Regions from separate parts of the Homo sapiens genome. Here region 1 is linked to region 2. Evidence: promoter capture Hi-C in human tissues and cell types (Jung and others, 2019). All regions are on one chromosome and are shown on one strand. Each heading gives the region's core, a stretch centred on a gene start or on the middle of the fragment in contact. The rest is flanking DNA. Distances are from core to core; before and after follow the strand shown.

The links. Contacts are between HindIII fragments. The study calls those that stand out against the background at their distance.
Region 1: a contact is called between a fragment that was not itself captured here and the fragment with the promoter of NRSN2 in region 2, in 1 of the 25 tissues and cell types used here (pancreas).

Annotation. Positions count from the first base shown.
Region 1 is chr20:715,904-720,823 of GRCh38, reverse strand. No RefSeq gene overlaps it. Among named protein-coding and RNA genes, the nearest start is that of SCRT2, 43 kb to the right of the region's middle. RefSeq lists an enhancer at 425-929. The HindIII fragment of the contact is 3,953 bases long and covers 508-4,460 here.
Region 2 is chr20:343,296-348,360 of GRCh38, reverse strand. NRSN2 (neurensin 2) reads right to left here and starts at 1,250. Exons shown (of 5, transcript NM_001323682.2): 1 at 1,219-1,250; 2 at 849-927. It overlaps LOC101929937 (serine/arginine repetitive matrix protein 2-like), which reads left to right. Exons shown (of 4, transcript XM_047440635.1): 2 at 1-261; 3 at 347-942; 4 at 1,370-2,095. The coding sequence ends at 1,693. RefSeq lists silencers at 143-232, 413-942, 963-1,382 and enhancers at 189-951, 952-1,714, 1,715-2,478. The HindIII fragment of the contact is 22,559 bases long and covers 1-5,065 here.

The DNA of each region.
Region 1 (4,920 bases), core at 1,235-3,734, 370 kb before region 2:
GGAACTGAGGCCATGTTCTTCCCAGGTCGTCCCAGCCAGACTGAGCTAGCAGAGGCACCAGGGCCTGGCCATTTCTGCCCCATGTGGGGCTTCTCTGTGGATAATCTTTACTCCAGAGACCCCTAGAGGGTGACTCTGCAGGCCCGGGCTGTGGTCTGAGGCTCTCCTGGCCAATTCCATTCCCTCCTGCTTTGTGTTTCACAGGTAGCAGCCCTCACTAACCCCCTTGCCCTCCTAACTCTCTCCCAGCACCAGCACCGAGGGGCACCCAAACTGAAAGGCTGCTCAATGGAGCAGTGGTTCTCAAAGTGTGTCCCAGAACCCCCAGCATCAGCATCAACCAGGATCCTGTAAGACATACACATTCTCAGGCCACACCCTACATTTAGAGATGGAAATGCCTGGAAATCTGCATTTTAACTGATCCTTCCAATGCACTCAACTTGGAGAACTGCTGTCACAGAGGACAACAATCAGTAAGATATGCACAGCAGTGTGGCCAGGGTGTGTGTGTGTATGTGTATGCACGCACACGTGCCTGTGTGTGTTTTGTGGGAAGGGGAGAATGTTTATCACAGCCTCAGCAATTTACCACCCCCCAAGGCCCTCCCTCATTTATTTCAAGAACCCCGAGGGCTAGGCCAACAAGCCTCCCTCCCTGCCCATTCAGGAGGAAGGTCCAGTCCCAACCTCCAGCTGGAGACTCTGCAGGCCCAGTCTGTGAGGCTGCACATAAGCCCAGCCTTCTTTCCTCCTGCTCCTACGCTCTCTCCCCGCCTTCCTCCCCAGGGGCACCCAGCCCCAACCGCCCGCCTCCTCTTTGTCTGCCAATCTGTCTCCATCCCGTGATGAGCTCCCGGCCTCAGCCAGCCAGTCTGTGCTCCATCTTCAGGATGGAGAGTGAGGCCTCGATGCTCCCAACTACTTCCCACTCACCCTGGTGAAAGGTCACTGAGAATGGTTCATGCCACCAGCTTCACTTCCGCCTCCCAACCCGTCGCCCAGGTGGAGACCCTGCCCAGTCTAGGCCAATAATCGCATCTCCTGATGGATAGGAGACATCCTATCCATCCTATCTTCAAGAAAAAGCTTGTCCTTCAGCAGCAAGGAGGGCAGCAAGCTGACAGCCTCCAGCTGCAGCTCCCCCAGGAGCCGCCTTGGCTTTGGAACTGAGGCCATGTTCTTCCCAGGTCGTCCCAGCCAGACTGAGCTAGCAGAGGCACCAGGGCCTGGCCATTTCTATCCTATCCTATCCTTAGATAGGGAGACATCCTCCCTATCTAAGACACTCAAAACCTCATTATGTGACAAGAGAGGACAAAGGGGACAGAGGTGCAGAGGCTTGCCCAGGGTCACATACCAAGAGAGGGGAGCAGCCAGGAGTTGGCCCCTGCTCTCTCCTTCCACCTCAGATTCCAACTCCCAGGCCCTGGCAGGTGGCAGGTGATGGTTCTGAGGTGGTCACGTGTGGCGGGGACACTGTTGGCCCTGGAAAACCAAGACCTTTGTGAACTCACAAAAGCAGCACGTGCTTCTTTCTCTAGTGGGCGTGGTGGTCCCTGTCCTGCTCACCGATGCCACAGCCCTGCAAATAAGGCTCAGGCAGGGGGACACTGCCTGTGGGTCACATGGCTGCCTTCCCTTTTCTAAACTGTCAGTAGGTGATACATCAGCACCTTCCTTCATGATGCCCAGCCCATCCCTCATCCTGCCCCACCTCAAGGAACCCTGGAATGTCAGGGCCAGAATAACAGTGACAGTTATGACAGATTACTTGCTATGTGGCAGGCATGACTGGCAAGTGCTCCAGACATCATTGTATTTATTTATTTATTATTATATTTTTTATTTTATTTATTTGTTTTGAGACAGAGTCTCACTTTTTTGCCCAGGCTGGAGTGCAGTGGCTCAATCCTGGTTCCACTGCAACCTCCACCTCCCGGGTTCAAGCGATTCTCCTGCCTCAGCCTCCCAAGTAGCTGGGATTACAGGCGCCCGCCACCACACCCGGCTAATTTTTGTATTTTTAGTAGAGACAGGGTTTCACCATGTTGGCCAGGCTGGTCACGAACTCCTGACCTCAAGTGATCCACCCGCCTCAGCCTCCCAAAGTGCTGGGATTACAGGCATGAGCCACCGCGTCCGGCCCATCATCGTATTTCATTCTCACCAGGAGCGCATGACAGACATGCAGCTCTCAGCCCACTCTACTGACATGGACATAAAACTCAAAGAGACAAAGCACTTTAACTCCAACTGCGCTAGACCAACTCCTCCATTTGATAGATGGGGAAGCTGAGTCCCAGAGAGGTGACATGATTTCTCCAAAGACACACACTAGTCAGTGTCAGAGTCAGCCTTTTCCAGGCAGCTTACCCCCTGAGAGTGACCATAGTTCACTCACACGCCACTTTAGAGTTTGTCAAGCTCTCCTCTCCTCTCAGGAAGGGAAGGGTTTCTTTTGTTTAATGGTTCTCACTCTGGGATGCTTATATGATGTGCCAAGCAAGCATGGTTTGAAAGCTTTGTAAACATTAACTCATTTAATGCTCACAAATACCCTATGATGCAGATATGTTTATTGCCCCCATTTTGCAAATGAGGAAACAGGCACAGAGAGCTGGAGTAAACTGCCTAAAGTCACACAGCCAAGATTCAAATCCAGGCTGCCTGAGGTATTAACTACTATGATGTTCTGCCCTTTTTACTGCCAAAAAAGCCTGAGGCTCAAGGAGAGGACATGACTTGCATGAGGCCACACACTAGAGTGGTGGTGGCTGGACTGGAGCCCAGGCGTCCTGCCTCCACGCCCAGCGCTGGCTCTCCACCCCCCGCCCCACTCCACGGGGCTCTTTCTCACTCTATGTTGATTCACAAACATCAGTTGGGAGCCTTCTTTGGCCAGGAGGTCTGCCTCAGTTCCCCTACCTAACAGGTGAGGCAAACAAGAAACAGACACCTAAAAAACAAATGGATAAATGGGTTCATGGAGGTACCAGAGGCAGCTGTGGGAGTACCAGGCAGGACACAGAGCCACCCTGGGAAAAAGAGAAGGCTTCTGGAAGTCTGATCCTTGAGTTGAATCTCCAAGTTCAAGTGGCACCCTTTCCGGAAGGACAGAATGGAATAGGGCATCCCAGACTGAGGAAACAGCACGTGCAAGGGTTGGGGTATGGGAGAGTGTAAATTGTTGTGAAAAGTACTGTTCAACCCCACGCAAGGGAGGGCACAGAAAAGGCTGTCCTGGAGGATCATGGAAAGAGTCTCAGAGAGTCAGAACGCGGGAGTCCTGACCACAAATCTGCCCTGTCTCACAGTGACCTTGGTATTCCCATCTGTAAAATGGATTGATATCTAAGCACTCTGCCAGCTCCATCCTTCAGCTGGTGGAGTTAGGATGGCTTTGAGTAGGGGGCTGGTTTTGATGTGAGGGCAGAAGGTAAGGGAGGAAAGGCATTCTGGAAAGGAGGACCTGTAGGAGCAAAGGTCCAGAGAGAGAAAGTGCAGAGCAGGCATTAGAAATGGTAAGGACGGCCAAACACGGTGGCTCACGCCTGTAATCCCACTACTTTGGGAGGCCAAGGCAGGAAGATTTCTTGAGTCCAGGAGTTCAAGACCAGCCTAGACAGCATAGTGAGACCCTGTCTCTATGAAAAAAAAAAAAATAGCTGGGCATGATGGCAAGCACCTATAGACCCAGCTACTTAGGAGGCTGAGGCAGAAGGACTGCTTGAGCCCAAGAGGTCAAGGCTGCAGTGAGCTGTGATTATGCCACTGCACTCCAGTCTGATCAACAGAAAGAGACCTTGTCTCAAAAAAAGCAAGCAAGCAACGGTAAGGAGAGGATGTAGCTGCTGTTGATGGTCCATTGGATGGTGCAGACAGGGGACACATATGAAGAAGTTGTATCAGTCTGGACTCTTCAGTTAGAAGTGAAAGAAATAAAAAAAAAAGTAATTATTAATTTATATAACTGAGAAGCCCAGGGCACTGGCTTCTGTTATGGCTGAATCCAGGTGCTGACATGTTACTGTGAGGATCCTGTCTCTCTCTCTATCATGGCTTTGATTTCTTTCTTGTAGGCCTCACTCTCAGGCAGCCTGTAACCTCATGGAGGCAAAGGTGGCCACCACTACCTCTGGAATCCATCACACAAACTACACTTCTGGTGGAAAGGCTCCCAGTAGCCCCACAAAAACCTCAGAAGCAGCTCTTGCCAGACTTACTTCCTAGAATTGTCATGAAGATTAAAGAAGTTAATAGAGCTTAGCCCAAGCTCTGGTACACAGCAGGTCCTCAGTCTTTGCTGTAGCTCAGCCAGAGAACTTGACATTATCCTGGACTATTCTCTGTCTTCACATCTAACATTAGATCTGTTTGCAAATCTTATTGGATCTACATATAAAAGAGATCTAGAATGCATACAGTTCTTCCCACCTCCACTGATAACAGTCTAGTCCAAGCCACCTTCATCTCCCTACTTTGTTTTCTAAGTTTTATATGTATATAGTATATTTATATAGTAATATATTCATGTATTCAATTCAATTGTGAACACAATTTAGACGTGTACATCCAGCTCAATGAATCTTCACACAGTGAGCAGATGATGTAACCTCCCTCAGATCAAGATACAAGACACCGACAGCACCCCAGAAGCCTCCTTCATCCCCGCTCCTAGTTATTCACCCCCTTGGTAGTGTGTCCTTTCATGTGTCTGAGTCACTAGCATTCACCTGGCTTAGTGCACTGGTTCCCAGCAAGTCTCTGGCTTTCTCTCTTGCCCTCTTATCCCTTTCAGTTAATCCAATCGATTCAGAGATCCTGTAAAAGATGTCCTCCCTCTGCTCAAAATCCTCCCATGGCTCCCATTTCATTTGGTGTAAAAGCCAAAATCCTCTCCATGGCCTGCAAGGTCCT
Region 2 (5,065 bases), core at 1-2,500:
GAGGAAAAACAACAACAACAAAAGCCACGACAGAGAACGGGAAAAGGCAGAGACTGAAAGCGAAGGACCGTCGGAGGAGGAGGGCGAGAGGTCTGGAGAGGAGGGCTCGCCGGAGGAGGCGGGCGGGGCGGGCTGTGCGGAGGGTGCGGCCAGCGCGGTACCCGCCCCGGCGAGGCGCTGGGGAGGCCCGGGTGGGGAGAAGAAATGGGGCCTGGGGGACGGTAGGAGCCTCCGTGCGGAGACCACTGTTCAAGGCCACAGGTGAGGAGGTGTGGAGGGGGCTTCGGGGCTGTTGACCTGGGTCAGCTCCTCCCCTCCAATTCACCGCTTCCGCGACTCCAAATAGATGGAATCACTCAGTCCTGCTGCTACTGGAGAGGGAAGGTGACCTTGACGCTGCCTCCCGCTCGGCCTGGCCCCTCCGCCTGGCGTTTCAGGGCTGCACGGAGTAGGTCTGGCGGGCGGGGGGCGGGGCGCAGGCACCCGGGACGAGGGTTGCCATGGGAACCGCTAGGGAGGCGTCCCCAGCCCGGGAGCCGGGAGGAGCTCGGTGGGAGGGGAGCGGGAGGCGGAGGGGGCTGCGCTGTCCGACGTGGGGAGACTGCGGCGGAGGGAGGAGGCGAGGGGCGGCAGGCACGGGCGGAAGTGACGGAAGCCAGGGCCCGAAGATGGACGGAATCTGTCGCCTCTGCACAGCCTCATTCAGTTGTGTCCTTCCCAGACCCTCAGACTCGCCCACTACAGCGTCCAGCGCTGCCCGGGCGGGGGAGAAGGGGCGCCCTCCCGGGGGGGATGGGTAGGGGGTGTCGGCCGGGGAAATCAGGCCATTTCCCGCCTCCCTTCCCCACCGGCACCCGCGCCACTCTTCCTGACAGGACCACCGATGCCCTGCTCCACACCAACTGCGTCCTTTTCCCTAGAGAGAAACTGAGGCAGAGAGGGGTAGGAATGGGTTTTTGAAGTGTTGGCGGGGGTGGGGGTGTCCTTTGAAGCCTCTACCCAGCCTATCAACCCTGAGGCGTCGAGGGGCGATGGGGCTGTTTCTGTCTCCCGCCCCTGCTGCTTCCCTGGGACCCCCACCTCCCAAAGCCGAGGCTCAGGCGCAAAGGTCCCGGCCCTGGCGGGACACGGCCCGGGCTGAGGATGCGGGCAGAGCGCGGGGGTTCTCCAGGGGCTGGGGCTGGGGCCTGGCCGCGCGTGGGGCAGGGCTAAGCTCACCTCTCTGCCTGCTGTCTCCGCCGAGCAAAGGCGGGTCCGGTTCGCGCCTGCGCCGCAGTTCGGGGCGGGGGAGGGGGCGCCGGCCCGCCTCAGGGCCTGGCTCTGCAGACGGCGGCCGCCTGCAGCTCCCCCGGCTCCTGTCCCCTTCCAGAGTTCCCTGCTCGCTCGGACACCCCAGCGCCCTCACAGAGACCCCTCGGACTCCCTGGGCCCCAGCCCCTCACGCAGCCCCTCAGACTCCTCACCGAAGCTGCCGTCACTCCCGCAGTTCCCCACCCCTCCCGTGGAAGACCCATCCCTTAACCGAGCCTTCCTCTCCTCGCTGCACCGTCAGTCCCTTTTCCAGGTCTCCATCCCCCTCATGGAGCCCCACCCCAGCGTAGAAACCGCTTCTCCTCGCCGGGCCCCCGCCCTCTTCACAGGCTCCCATCTGTCTCCGGGCTCCTACCGGGAAGTCCCCTCCCACTTGCCTTGAGAGCCGCTAATCCCTCTGGAGTCCTCACATCTCACTCAGTCCCCATCCTCTTTTCATCCTCTTTTCCTCTTTGAGTCCCTACCCATCCCTGGTACGGGATCAGCCCTTGTACCTTGAGAAGGGAGTTTGGGTGGAGGACTCGGGGTTGGGAGAGAAGTGACCTCCACTTTGGAAGGAGCTAATGACAGCCTCCCTTGTTGTTTCCTCCCCTAGCCCCAGTTCTGCCCTGGGCAATGCGTGCCCACTGCCCATCTCCCTGGAGAGCCAGCCTGTGCCAGGCAGCTGCATCTGCCTCCCACCCTGTCATGAGCTGTCAGCCTTGATTTTGTCCCACATTTGCTGTGTGATCTTGGGAAAGTCATTGTGCCCCTCCAACCGTCATCAAGCACCCTTGCACAGACATGCCTTTGTGTCTTGAGCATCTATTCTGTTTCTCCTTGTGCTAGGGGCTGGGGACACACAGAAGAATGAGCTCGGCAAGATAGGGCCACATCTTCCTTTTTAGTTTTTCTTTTTCTTTTTTTTTAATTTTTATTTTTTTGAGACAGCGTCTCACTCTGTTGTCCAGGCTGGAGTGCGGTGGCATGATCACGGCTCACTGCAGCCTCGATCTCCCAAGGCTCAGGTGATCCTCCCACCTCAGTCGCCTGAGGAGCTGGGACTACAGGCACGCACTACCATGCCTAGCTAATTTTTTGTATTTTTAATAGAGACAGGGTTTTGCCATGATGCCCAGGCTGGTCTTGAACTCCTGAGCTCAAGTGATCCACCTGCCTCGGCCTCCCAAAGTGCTGGGATTGTAAGCGTGAGCCACCGCGTCTGGCCAAGGCCACATATTTCTTGTTCGTGTTGTATCTGTGAGCCTCCCATAGTGCTTGGCACTGAGTAGGCAGCCCAGTAAATATTTACTGAAGACAGTCTAATAATAGTAGCAAACTTATTATGCTCACTATGTGCAAAGTGTTTAAGCGTTTTGTATGTTCTATTTACTTACTCATTTAAGTGTGTGTGTGTGTGTGTATGTGTGTGTGTGTGATGGGAGGAACTCTTGCAGCTCAAAACTAAAGGCCCCAAATGGTGACAGGAGATGGCATTGGAGAGGCAGGCAGAAGTGAGACCTTGTGGGGCCTCATAAGCCAAGGTAAGGAGTTTGAGCTTCAGCCCAAGGGTAGTGGGGAGCCATGGAAGGGTTATGAAGAGGGGTGGGATGTGATCTGATTTTCATTCTGAAAAGACCTCTGGCTGCTGTCAAGAGAACAGCATGTTGAGCACAAGAGTGACAGCAAGAGATCAGCAAAGAGATCAGAGATGACAGTGTCTTGGCCTGGTGCAGAGAAATGAAGACATTCAAGAGATGTTAGCCTGTAAAATGAACTACAGGAATAGCTACAGATTGGAAACAACCTGTGGTGGTTTTAAAATATAGCTACAAATTCTTTAGCACTCCTCTGTAGAGAGGTGGGATCCTTGTACCCTCTCTGAATCTTGGGTGAGCTGATGACTGCTTCAACCAATGGAGTACGGTGGAAGTAACACTCTGACTTCTAAGGTCCAGACATAAAAGTACAGGCAACTTCTGCTAGAACTCTAGCTCTTGGAGCCTGAGGCACCATGCCTACCTAGGGCTCCATGTCTGCTTAGAGGCTGCCATGCTGTCAGGATGCCAAGACCATCAGGAGAGGACACATGAAGGCACCACAGTCCCAGCTAAGCTTAGCTTTGAGTCATCCCAGTTCAAGCATAAAAGAAGTGAGTGAAGAAGAACCAGATGAGGCCAGGCACGGTGGCTCACACCTGTAATCCCAGCACTTTGGGAGGCCAAGGCGGGTGGATACCCTGAGTTCAGGAGTTCGAGACCAGCCTGGCCACATGGCAAAACCCCGTCTCTACTAAAAATACAAAAATAGCCGGGCATGGTGGCGTGCACCTGTAATCCCAGCTACTAGGGAGGATGAGGCAGGAGAATTGCTTGAACCCGGGAGGCAGAGGTTGCAGTGAGCCGACATCATGCCATTGCACTGTAGAAGGCGAAGGGGAAGGGGAAGAACAAGATGATTCCAGTGGCCAGCCATTTGAATCAGCTTCAGCCTTCAAATCTTCAAATCTTCCTAGCTGAAGACTCAAACATTGCAGAGTAGAAACAAGCTGGCCTCACTGTGTCCTGCCTGAATTCCTGACACACAGAACCCACAAGCATATTCAAGTGGTTATTGTGTTATACCACTAGGTTTGGGGGGTTTTGTTCTGTGCTAACAGATAACTGGGACACCACTTAAATATCCATCAATGGAAGACGAGTTATGTACATTATATGTCTTTGTGGAATACTATGCATCCATTAGAAAGAAGAAATTAGTCTATAATTATTTATATTAATCACACTTCAAGTGAAGAAGGATGCAGTGTTCTGAAAAGTCTTGATAGTATGCCTCCATTTGAAATTCTCAAAAAGATGGCACATATAGAGAACTTCTGGGAAAATAGACAAGAAAGAGGTAACAGTAGATGCCTTGGGGGAGGGTAACTGATGGCAAGGGTGGGAATGAAATTCACTTTTTTTTTTTTTTTTTGAGATGGAGTCTCGCTCTGTCACCAGGCTGGAGGGCAGTGGTGCGATCTCAGCTCACTGCAACCTCCGCCTCCCGGGTTCAAGCGATTCTCCTGCCTCAGCCTCCCCAGTAGCTGGGACTACAAGCACATGCCACCATGCCCAGCTAATTTTTTTTTGTATTTTTAGTACAGATGAGGTTTCACCATGTTGGCCAGGATGGTCTCTATCTCCTGACCTCATGATCTGCCTGCCTCGGCCTCCCAAAGTGCTGGGATTACAGGCATGAGCCACTGTGCCCGGCCGAAATTCACTTTTTACTATACACCTCTATGTTAGTTATCTATTGATTTTGTAAAAATTTAGGTGAGAAATGATGAAGAATTGGAGTGGGCAGGAAAAATGGAAAGGAGGGTGCAGGTGTGAAAAATGTCCATAAAGTTAAGTTGGCAGAACTTGGTTACTAAGAAGTAAGGGAAGTGACAGGGATTGAGAGAGAGAGAGAGAGACAGAGAGAGGGAGAGAGACAGAGAGGATAGAGGCTGACTTTTATGTTTATAGGTCAGGTGGGTGATGCTCCCATTAACAGAGATGTAAAATAGATGAGGGAAAGCCAGGTTGTGGAGAAGTTGATGCCCTTTGCTTTTGGCAGAGTTGAATGGCACTGTACAGGACATTCTGGCCTAGAGTCAGGGGCAAGGTCTTGGCCTTAGATACAACATAGGGAATTGTTCTCACTGGAAATGGCAGTTTTAAACTTGAACTGGCTTTAAACAAAGGGAATATAAAGGCTCACATAATTGAGAAGTCAAGGGATACTGGCT